Linked DNA regions of Homo sapiens: regions 2 and 3 are each linked to region 1. Evidence: promoter capture Hi-C in human tissues and cell types (Jung and others, 2019). All regions are on one chromosome and are shown on one strand. The core of a region is centred on a gene start or on the middle of the fragment in contact, and the rest is flanking DNA. Distances in the headings are between cores, read along the strand shown.

Region 1 (3,191 bases), core at 584-3,083:
TATATAGTCCTGGTGTATTCCTAGGCAGGAGATCAAAGGGCCCCCCGGGTTGGGTGGTCCATGAGTGAGCATGTGATACCGCAGGAGTCTTCCTCCTGCCCTGACAACTTGCCTTGTACTACCAGTGCTGCTCAGGATGTCTGCAGCCACGAAGCTTCATTATAAATGCAGGAGCTCAGGCTCCAGGCCCACTGAATCTGAATCTGAGTCTACAGACCGCTCCTGCACTCTTAGAAGTTTGAGAAACCCCCCTGGGCTGGGGTCTCTTTCCCATATACAGCTAGGGAAGCTTGCTGGAGGGAGGACTGAAAAGAACAAGTGCCTGATCTACCTTCCCCTCTGCCCTTTCACAGGTGGGTGGATGCGTGGGAAGAGGGTGGGGCATTTCCTGCTATTCCCCCTTATTCACCTTTTCTCCACGGGGATTAGAGTCTTGACCGGAAAACATGGCTCTGGTCCCCAGCCCCTATGGGACTGAAAACCCGGAGGCTTGCATGTCTCAGATCCTCCAGAGGCTGATGTAAGAGTTGCTGAAGACCTCGGATCTTTCCTTTTGTGAAATGCAGCCCATGTGGCCGGGAAAATAGTGGGAGCTGGAAGTAACAGTTGTGGTTTTAAGCACACAGTAGATGCTCAAGAAATATATTGAGTACATGTCTTGGACTTTCCCCTCCCTAAATATTATCTGTCAAGTGGGCCTATTGGACTTGTTGACCTTGGAGGGCCCTGTCGGCTTGACCCACCAATTCGAAATGGTTGAGAAAGAGGTCTGTCTTTGTACCTTTTGCAGCCTGTTTTCCCAGTTCTTAGAACATTGGGGTGAGATCCAGAGATTTCAGAGATCCCCCTGGAACACGAGTGTTCTGTGACGAGTTCATGACCTTGGAGCCACCAACCATACCCCTCACCCGTTGTCCCCAGTTCTGGCCTTGCCGACCCACTGCGTGTTTCTTTGCTTCATGTGGGCTGTTCCCCGGGGAGGGAGCTCAGTGGAGAACAGAAAGAGGTGTGGGTGAGGGCTCCCCCTTGGTGGGGAGTGGGGCACAGGAGCCTCAGGCTCTGTTGACCATCAAAGAAGGGACTCGAGTGGGCAGGCCGCTCACTTGCTGTGGACCTTGGGCAAGTCTCTAACTCTCCCTGGGCCTTGGAAGTCAGGCCGAGGTGATCTCTGCCGCCCCCTCCCTGCCTGGGTTTTCACTCTTGTTCTGATCCCACTCTCTTCCGGGTGCCTCCCTTCCACTTCTCCGTAGCCTGTGGCTCCCCTCCCCACACCCGCCCTGGGCCCGGGTTAGGCTGGGGCGGGGGCGAGCTGCCCAGTCCAGAGACAAAGTCCAAGAGCCGCGAATGGGCTGGCGAGGGTCAACCGCGTGGCCTCTGCCAGGAAGCGCGCCGAGCGCCCGGGTGAGGAGGGCGTCAGCCAGGGCACAGCAGCTTTCTCGCCCAGCGAAGCCTGTGCGCCTTCCTCCCGCGCCTGCAGACAAGCGGAGCCCATGGGGGCCGTGGGCCCCACCTATCCCGACGTCTCCACTTGATCCAGAAGTTGTCCCAGTCCCCTTGGAGCATGAGCTGTTGCCTGGACAGCTGGGCTGTCGCCCAGGTTCTGCCACTGTCTAGCTGTGTAACCTTGAGCCAGTCCCTGCCCCTCTCTGGTCCTCAGTTTCCCCACCTGTAAAATGGGGGCACCGAGAACCCTCCTCCAGGACCTGCGGCGGGGCGGGGCGGCAGGGCGGGGGCCTCCCCGCCGCTCCCGCGCCCGCGGCTTGGGCTCCGCAGTGAGTGGGGAGCGGCGCCGGGGAAGGAGCGCTCCGCGGTCATGTGACGTCCCCCTCCCCGAACTGCGGCGGCGGCGAGCGCCGGCCGCATCTGAGCAGAGCTGCAGCGGCGGCCGCGGGCACCAGAGTGCCGAGCCCAGGACGCCCCCGGCCCAGGCCCTTGGGTGAGTGCGCCCCGCCAGGGCTGCGGCCCTGGAAAGGGGAAGGGGACAGAGGTGTCCAGACTCCCGTCGGCTCGCAGCGAAGACCCCGCGCGGGCGGGCGGGGACGGAGGGTGGGGGCGAACGCGTGGGGGACCCGGGTCTCCAGGGGCGAGGGGTGGGCGCAGCTGGGCTCGCGCAGCCCGGTCTTGACAGCAGCTGGAGAAGTGGGGGGAGGCCTGGACTGAGCCGGCTGAACCCCCAGCCTGTTGGACTTGGTCCAGGCCGCGGCCAGGGGGCTTTGGTCCCACCCCCCTGGGTGGGTGGGGAGTCCAGTTTTCCGCCCACCTCGAGGTGGGGGCGCCTGGGGTTTAGAGGAGGGACTGTGGGAAGTGGGCGCGTTTCCTCCATCCCTGGGGAGGGGCCCAAGCCCTAGCGCCCCCCAGAGGGTGGCGCTCCTGTCCTCAGAGGAGGGAAGTGGGGGCCTCAGATCAAGGACCCTGAGCGGGGAGGGCGGTGATGTCCTTGCATCCCCAGAGACAGGACGCATTCCCCTGTCCCTGACCCCCGCGGCAGAGCGGGGCACACGCGTCACGAAGTTGGGCGCCCCCTCGTCGCCTCCCCTGGCTCGGCAGGATCTGAGGACTCGGTGGGAATTCACGGGGCGGTTTCCGTGCCCTGCAGGGTTTGGTGCCAGCTGCGGGGCGCCTGGGCTTGGGGAAGAAACCTTGTGTACGCACACCTGCACACACACACAGTCTCCGGAGGTGAGCGGCCCCCTCCCTACCATAACAGACCCCAGCCTGTGCATGCCCTCGGAGTCCTTGTTGGGGTCATAGCACAGGCCCGGTGGTGGGGTCAGGAAGAACATCCACTGTTCTCAGGGCTCATTGGCCTCTGTCCCCGGGCTCCATTCCCCTCCCTGCCAAGTCAGAGGTCAGGCCCCTGGGGCGGCAGGCAGGAAGGACACTGAGGGAAGGGGCACTGAGGCAGGAGGGGCACTGAGGGAAGCTGGCCAGGTGGAAGTAGGAGAGAAAGGCAATGGGGGTGAGATGGTACCACTTCCTCCCCATATGAGGCTCTCAGGAGGCTCCTGGCCCCCCCTGCACAGGTAGTGGTCCCTCCTTCCTGAGGGTGTTTGGGGGAAAACGCTATGGTTGGGGCACTGGGGAAGGTTGCCTCGCAGATGAAACAGAACATTGGCCAAAGGTGTCCCTGAATGGGCTTCTGGACTGGCACAGGGCCCTGAGGGCTGTGGCTGAGTGGGGAGGCAGTGATC
Region 2 (2,796 bases), core at 217-2,716, 170 kb after region 1:
CCAAGAGCCTCAGGTCCAGGTCTCCTGCACCTACCTTGTCAGCTCTACAAGTCCCACTGTGCAAGGCCTGTTACTTGCAACATCCCACTTCTGGTACCAGTTTCATCACCAGTTAGAAAGCTCCAAGTAACAGAAAATACAACTTCTCAAACTGGTTTTGAAAATAATGGAATGTATGGGCTCACTAAAATGAAAAGTCTATAACCAGAGGCAGGGCACGATGGCTCATGCCTGTAATCCTAGCACTTTGGGAGGCCAAGGCAGGAGGATGGCTTGAGCCCAGGACTTGGAGACCAGCCTGGGCAATGTGGCAAAATCCCATCTCTACAAAAAAACAAACACTACAACAACAATAACAAAACCCCACAAAAAGTAGTTGAGCATTATGGCACGTACCTGTAGTCCCAGCTACTTTGGAGGCTGAGGTGGGAGGATGGCTTGAGCTGGTGGTGGAGGGGGTATGGGGGTGTCGAGGCTGCAGCGGGTAGTGATCACACCACTGCATTCCAGCCTGGATGACAGAGTGAGATCCTGTCTCAAAAAAAAAAAAAAAAAAAAAAGTCTACATCCAGAGCGTCTTCCCAGTGGTTCAGTGATATAATCAGGACCTTGCTTTTCTGTCTTTCCATTCTCAGCTCCTCTTCCTCCCTCTTGGGCCCATTCTCACCCAAGCAGAGGTTCCCAGGTGATATATGGAAGTCACTGTTAATATATTAAAAAAAAAAAAGAAGAAGAAAAAAAGAAAGAAAAGAAAGAAAGAAAATCTATTTCCCCAAACAAACACAAGTCTTGGAATTGCATCTCCTGGACCCAGCCTCCACGATGAGCTCCCTAAGCCTGTCACAACAGTGATTGATTTAAGCCAATCCAGGCCCACCCTTGGAGATGGAGTGGAGTTCAACCCACCCAATCTGCCCTGAAAAGAGAAGAGGGGAGTGGGTGCTGGAGAGGCAACTCACAAGTGTCCCACACACAATAGCTTTAGGATTTAGGCAAGCACTTGAAGTAAATAATAATAAAAATATTGTATATGTGTAAAGTCCAATATGTTTTAAAATATATAAATCATCTAGGTTCATGCTAGGAAGTGTAAATGCAAAAAGTCAAGTAAACTAAAATGCCTGGTAATCTTATCACACAGAGATATCCCATTTAACACCTTGGTTTTTATCTTTCCAAATCTAATTTTTAAAAAAACTTTAAAAGGATAGGCGCGTAGGATGATACATATTGAGAGTCCCTGCTTTTCTCCCATCATACGCCAACATTTTCCTAATCCTGTCCAAGTTTTTAAGCCCTTTGGATGCATTATCTCATTTACTCCTCTGGGTAGGGGTTATTATGATCCCCATTCAACAGAGAATGAAAACGGAGGCTTGGAGGCTAAACCAAGATCAGGCACCCAGCATGTGGCTCCCAGCCTAGGCCCCCTAACCACGGGGCCTCACAGTCTCTGTCAGGGGAGAGAGAGGGCATGCCCACAAGCCCTTCTGGAAGGTGAGAGTGACTGTGTGGCACACCTCCAGGACAGTCCAGTCTCCTTGACAGCCTCCTTCTACGTGGTCCCAGGTGTTTCTGGGCACTCAGAGTAAGGAAGACTAGTGGGTTTAATGTTTATCACCTCAAAGTGCAGTGTCAGGAATCCCAGGGATTCTGGACTCTTCACATACCTCCAGGGGGCGGGAGTGGTTAGGGCAGCGGGGGACAGAGGGCAAACATCCCTCCTCAGATTTCAACTCCTCCAGTTTTCTGTGTGCTTGCAGGGCTAGAGTGAGCGCGTGATGGGGTGGGCTCCGAAGGCCTGAGCCCTCATCTCCTAGCAGTTGCAAATGAAAAGGTCTATAGTGATGGACTGTGGCCCAGGCTCTGAAGTCAGACTACCTGGGCTCAAATCTGGCTCCAGTAGCTGCTTGACCTTGAGCAAGTGAGGCTCTCCGTGCCTCAGTTCTTCATCTGTGAAATGGGAATGTTAACAACTTCCACAGAGGGTTGTTGGGAAGTTTATGTAAAATAATACCTGTAAGTCCCTTGGAAGAGATATACCTGCTCTTATGAGCATTATTTTATTGGATATCTATATTAATGAAAAATTTAGTTGCAGGTAATGGAAAACCTCTCCACTGGCATAACCAAAGAGAATAGTTTATTAAAAGGGGGGTTCGTCCATGACAGCCAAGGGCAGGAAGGCAGCCAATACTCCAGAAGAGACTGGAAGCAGAGATTTGATCAGTTACCAGTCCAACCCATTTCCTATCTCTGAGTTTCTTCTCTCTGTGCCTGCTTTGTTCGTCTGTGCTTGTAGACCCATTTTCTCCTCCTCCTTGTTGTTGCAGCAGGACCTTGCCTCCCCAGGGCTCCCCAAGCAAGTGCATTGCAATCCCAGTGCCCAGGAGAGACAATTGGATTGGCCCAGCTGGGTCCTCTCCTGGTCCAATCAACCACAGATGGGGGCTGAATCATGCGATGCCAACATGGCAGCTCCCAAAGACATTGGATTGGCCCAGCTTGGTCCACTCCTGGTCCAATCAACCATGGATAGGGGCGGGATCATGCAGTGCCAACATGGCAGCTCCCAAAGAAGAGGGGACTGGCCTGTGAATGGGATGAGACACCCCCAATCCCCCGCCCCCAGATGATGAAATTCAGTTATCCTACTTCCCTCTGCCACAAACTACTTTTGCTCCTTGGTTCTACAACTAAGAGGACACACGCTGCTCCGGTTTGAATGTCCCCTCCAAGATTAAGGTTGACAATCCTGCATGTGGCAGTATTGAGGGGTGGTGCCTTTAAGAAGTG
Region 3 (2,808 bases), core at 172-2,671, 180 kb before region 1:
GCTGTGGCGGAGGCGGGGCCTGTACGCTGGGCGGGGGAGGCGGCACACTGCCCCACACGTTCCACCAGCAGAAGCCAGGCCTCATCTCCCTCCCTCCCAGTTTCTAGCATGGGATGGCTCGGAGCAGAGCCAGTGAGAGTTTGAATGAATCACTGAGGCTGAGGGAGTGGTGACAATAGCCCCCGTCCCTGTCCTCACGTACCTCTGGCTCCTCCTGGCCCAGGTGCACGGCTCCCGTCTGCGGCTCCCCCAGGTCTCACCAGCTGATTCTGGAGAATATGTGTGCCGTGTGGAGAATGGATCGGGCCCCAAGGAGGCCTCCATTACTGTGTCTGTGCTCCACGGCACCCATTCTGGCCCCAGCTACACCCCAGGTGAGGAGCCAGGTGTGGCTGGGCCGGGGCTGAGCCCTAGGAGCTCCCAAGGAAGATGCCTGTGGCTTCTTCAGTGGGACCAGGACAGGGGGGCATTCCAGGCAGGCTTTGACCCTTCAGCGCCTGCTCAGAGAGAGAAGGAGGTTGAGTGGACGGGAGGGAGGTTAAGGCTGGTCCAGCTTACCTGGGCTCCCTATGAGTGACTGTTTCAGAATTTGTCAGGAAGCAGCAGAATGTCCAGGTTGAATACTAAGCTGGGAGTCGGCTGACCTGGTTCAAATCCCAGATCTGCCCCTTAGCAACCTTGAACTAGCTTTTAACTTTTGGGGCCTCAGATTCATCTATGAAATGGAGCAGTACTGCCCACCTGCTTGGTCATGGTGTGGTTTTTTTATTATTTTATTTTATTTTATTTTATTTTATTTTATTTTATTTTATTTTTTTGAGAGAGAGTCTCGCTCTGTCACCCAGGCTGGAGTGCAGTGGCGCGTGATCTCGGCTCACTGCAAGCTCCGCCTTCCGGGTTCACACCATTCTCCTGCCTCAGCCTTCTGAGTAGCTAGGACTACAGGCACACCCGCCACCAGGCCGGCTAATTTTTTGTATTTTTTTTAGTAGAGACGGGGTTTCACCGTGTTAGCCAGGATGGTCTCGATCTCCTGACCTCGTGATCCGACCGTCTCAGCCTCCCAAAGTGCTGGGATTATAGGCATGAGCCACCGCGCCTGGCCAGTCATGGTGTGGTTTAAATGAGACAGTGTCTATGGAAAGTACTTGTGAGCACACGGAAGACGTCCTGTAGAAGGGAGGTGTCTCACTGTCATCCGCATCCTTGGGCGCAGCCTGGGTAGTAAAGCTTGCTGGTTCCCTATGGGCCAGAGGAGCTCATCATCAAGAAGTCATGGGTGGGTCAATGGGCCTCCAGCTTGTGGTTAGAGGCTGGGGAGGGAAGAAGCCATATTCGGCTGGCCATGTGGAGGCAGAAGGGTGTGGCCCTAGTCCCAGAAAGGCCACCTGTCGGCCGTCCCCACTAGGGCCTGGTCACAGCCCAGAGCCTTCTGCCCCAGGGCTACAGGTTACAGCCCAAGAGTTCAGGCCTCTGAGCAGCCGCTCTGTGTCCAGTGCCCGGCAGCACCCGGCCCATCCGCATCGAGCCCTCCTCCTCACACGTGGCGGAAGGGCAGACCCTGGATCTGAACTGCGTGGTGCCCGGGCAGGCCCACGCCCAGGTCACGTGGCACAAGCGTGGGGGCAGCCTCCCTGCCCGGCACCAGGTATGGCAGCCCCCCGGGACCACCTTGCTGGAGGGGCTGGATGGGACTGTTCCAGCCCCCTCCCAACCCACCCCATTTGCACACAGACCCACGGCTCGCTGCTGCGGCTGCACCAGGTGACCCCGGCCGACTCAGGCGAGTATGTGTGCCATGTGGTGGGCACCTCCGGCCCCCTAGAGGCCTCAGTCCTGGTCACCATCGAAGCCTCTGTCATCCCTGGTGAGTGACTCCCAGTGACATGGAAAGCTGGAGGAGGCAGAGAGGCCTCCGGGGTGGTGAGATCCAAGGGACCCCTCTTGCTGACAGGGCAGAAGGCCCACACCGGAGCTGGCTGCAGGGCCCTGCCCAGGCCGACTCCACCTGTCAGAGTAACCACCGCCTTCCCGTCACACTTTGCTTTGGCCACATGACTCCTCAGGCGTCCCCTCCCACCTCCTCTTCCTCTCTCCAACTCATCTCTGCCCTCATCTCTCTCACTTCCTCACTCCCCTCTGCAAGGCGTGGCCCATGCCCTGGTCCTCCCATCAGGGTTGCTGAGCTGAGGGCATCAAGTCCAGGCCCCCAGATGCCTGAAAAGCTGGATCTGGCCTTGAAACCCTGGGCTGAGCTAGCTGCAGGGTGGGCAACCCCTGCCCTCTCATCTCAGGAGCATCTACAACTCTCACTCCCATCCCCACTGCTGCAGGACCCATCCCACCTGTCAGGATCGAGTCTTCATCCTCCACAGTGGCCGAGGGCCAGACCCTGGATCTGAGCTGCGTGGTGGCAGGGCAGGCCCACGCCCAGGTCACATGGTACAAGCGTGGGGGCAGCCTCCCTGCCCGGCACCAGGTACAGGGCACCAAGAATGTGGGACGGGGCCATGGACAGTGGGTTGCAGGATCCTGGCCCCTAGGCTGAGGGGCTGGCACTTCCTAGATCGGGGGGACAGCGGTGGGGCATTTGCTGGCCTCCGGGAAGCCCCCCTCACACCTCTGCCCACGGCTGCCCAGGTTCGTGGCTCCCGCCTGTACATCTTCCAGGCCTCACCTGCCGATGCGGGACAGTACGTCTGCCGGGCCAGCAACGGCATGGAGGCCTCCATCACGGTCACAGTAACTGGGACCCAGGGGGCCAACTTAGCCTACCGTGAGTGGGGCCACCAGGCTGGGCTGGGATGC

The links. The method cuts DNA at HindIII sites, captures the fragments that hold promoters and counts their contacts. A contact is called where the count stands out against the background at its distance.
Region 2: a fragment that was not itself captured here is called in contact with the fragment with the promoter of RAP1GAP in region 1 in 1 of the 25 tissues and cell types used here (IMR-90 fibroblasts).
Region 3: a contact is called between a fragment that was not itself captured here and the fragment with the promoter of RAP1GAP in region 1, in 3 of the 25 tissues and cell types used here (H1 embryonic stem cells, mesenchymal stem cells and mesendoderm cells).

Annotation. Positions count from the first base shown.
Region 1 is chr1:21,667,999-21,671,189 of GRCh38, reverse strand. RAP1GAP (RAP1 GTPase activating protein) reads left to right here and starts at 1,833. Exons shown (of 25, transcript NM_002885.4): 1 at 1,833-1,936. RefSeq lists an enhancer at 1-1,113 and a silencer at 1,762-1,911. The HindIII fragment of the contact is 12,626 bases long and covers 1-3,191 here.
Region 2 is chr1:21,496,784-21,499,579 of GRCh38, reverse strand. No RefSeq gene overlaps it. Among named protein-coding and RNA genes, the nearest start is that of ALPL, 11 kb to the left of the region's middle. The HindIII fragment of the contact is 4,936 bases long and covers 1-2,796 here.
Region 3 is chr1:21,851,759-21,854,566 of GRCh38, reverse strand. It overlaps HSPG2 (heparan sulfate proteoglycan 2), which reads left to right. Exons shown (of 97, transcript NM_005529.7): 50 at 224-374; 51 at 1,497-1,648; 52 at 1,735-1,867; 53 at 2,334-2,479; 54 at 2,641-2,776. Among named protein-coding and RNA genes, the nearest start is that of LDLRAD2, 41 kb to the right of the region's middle. RefSeq lists an enhancer at 1,452-2,651. The HindIII fragment of the contact is 5,961 bases long and covers 1-2,808 here.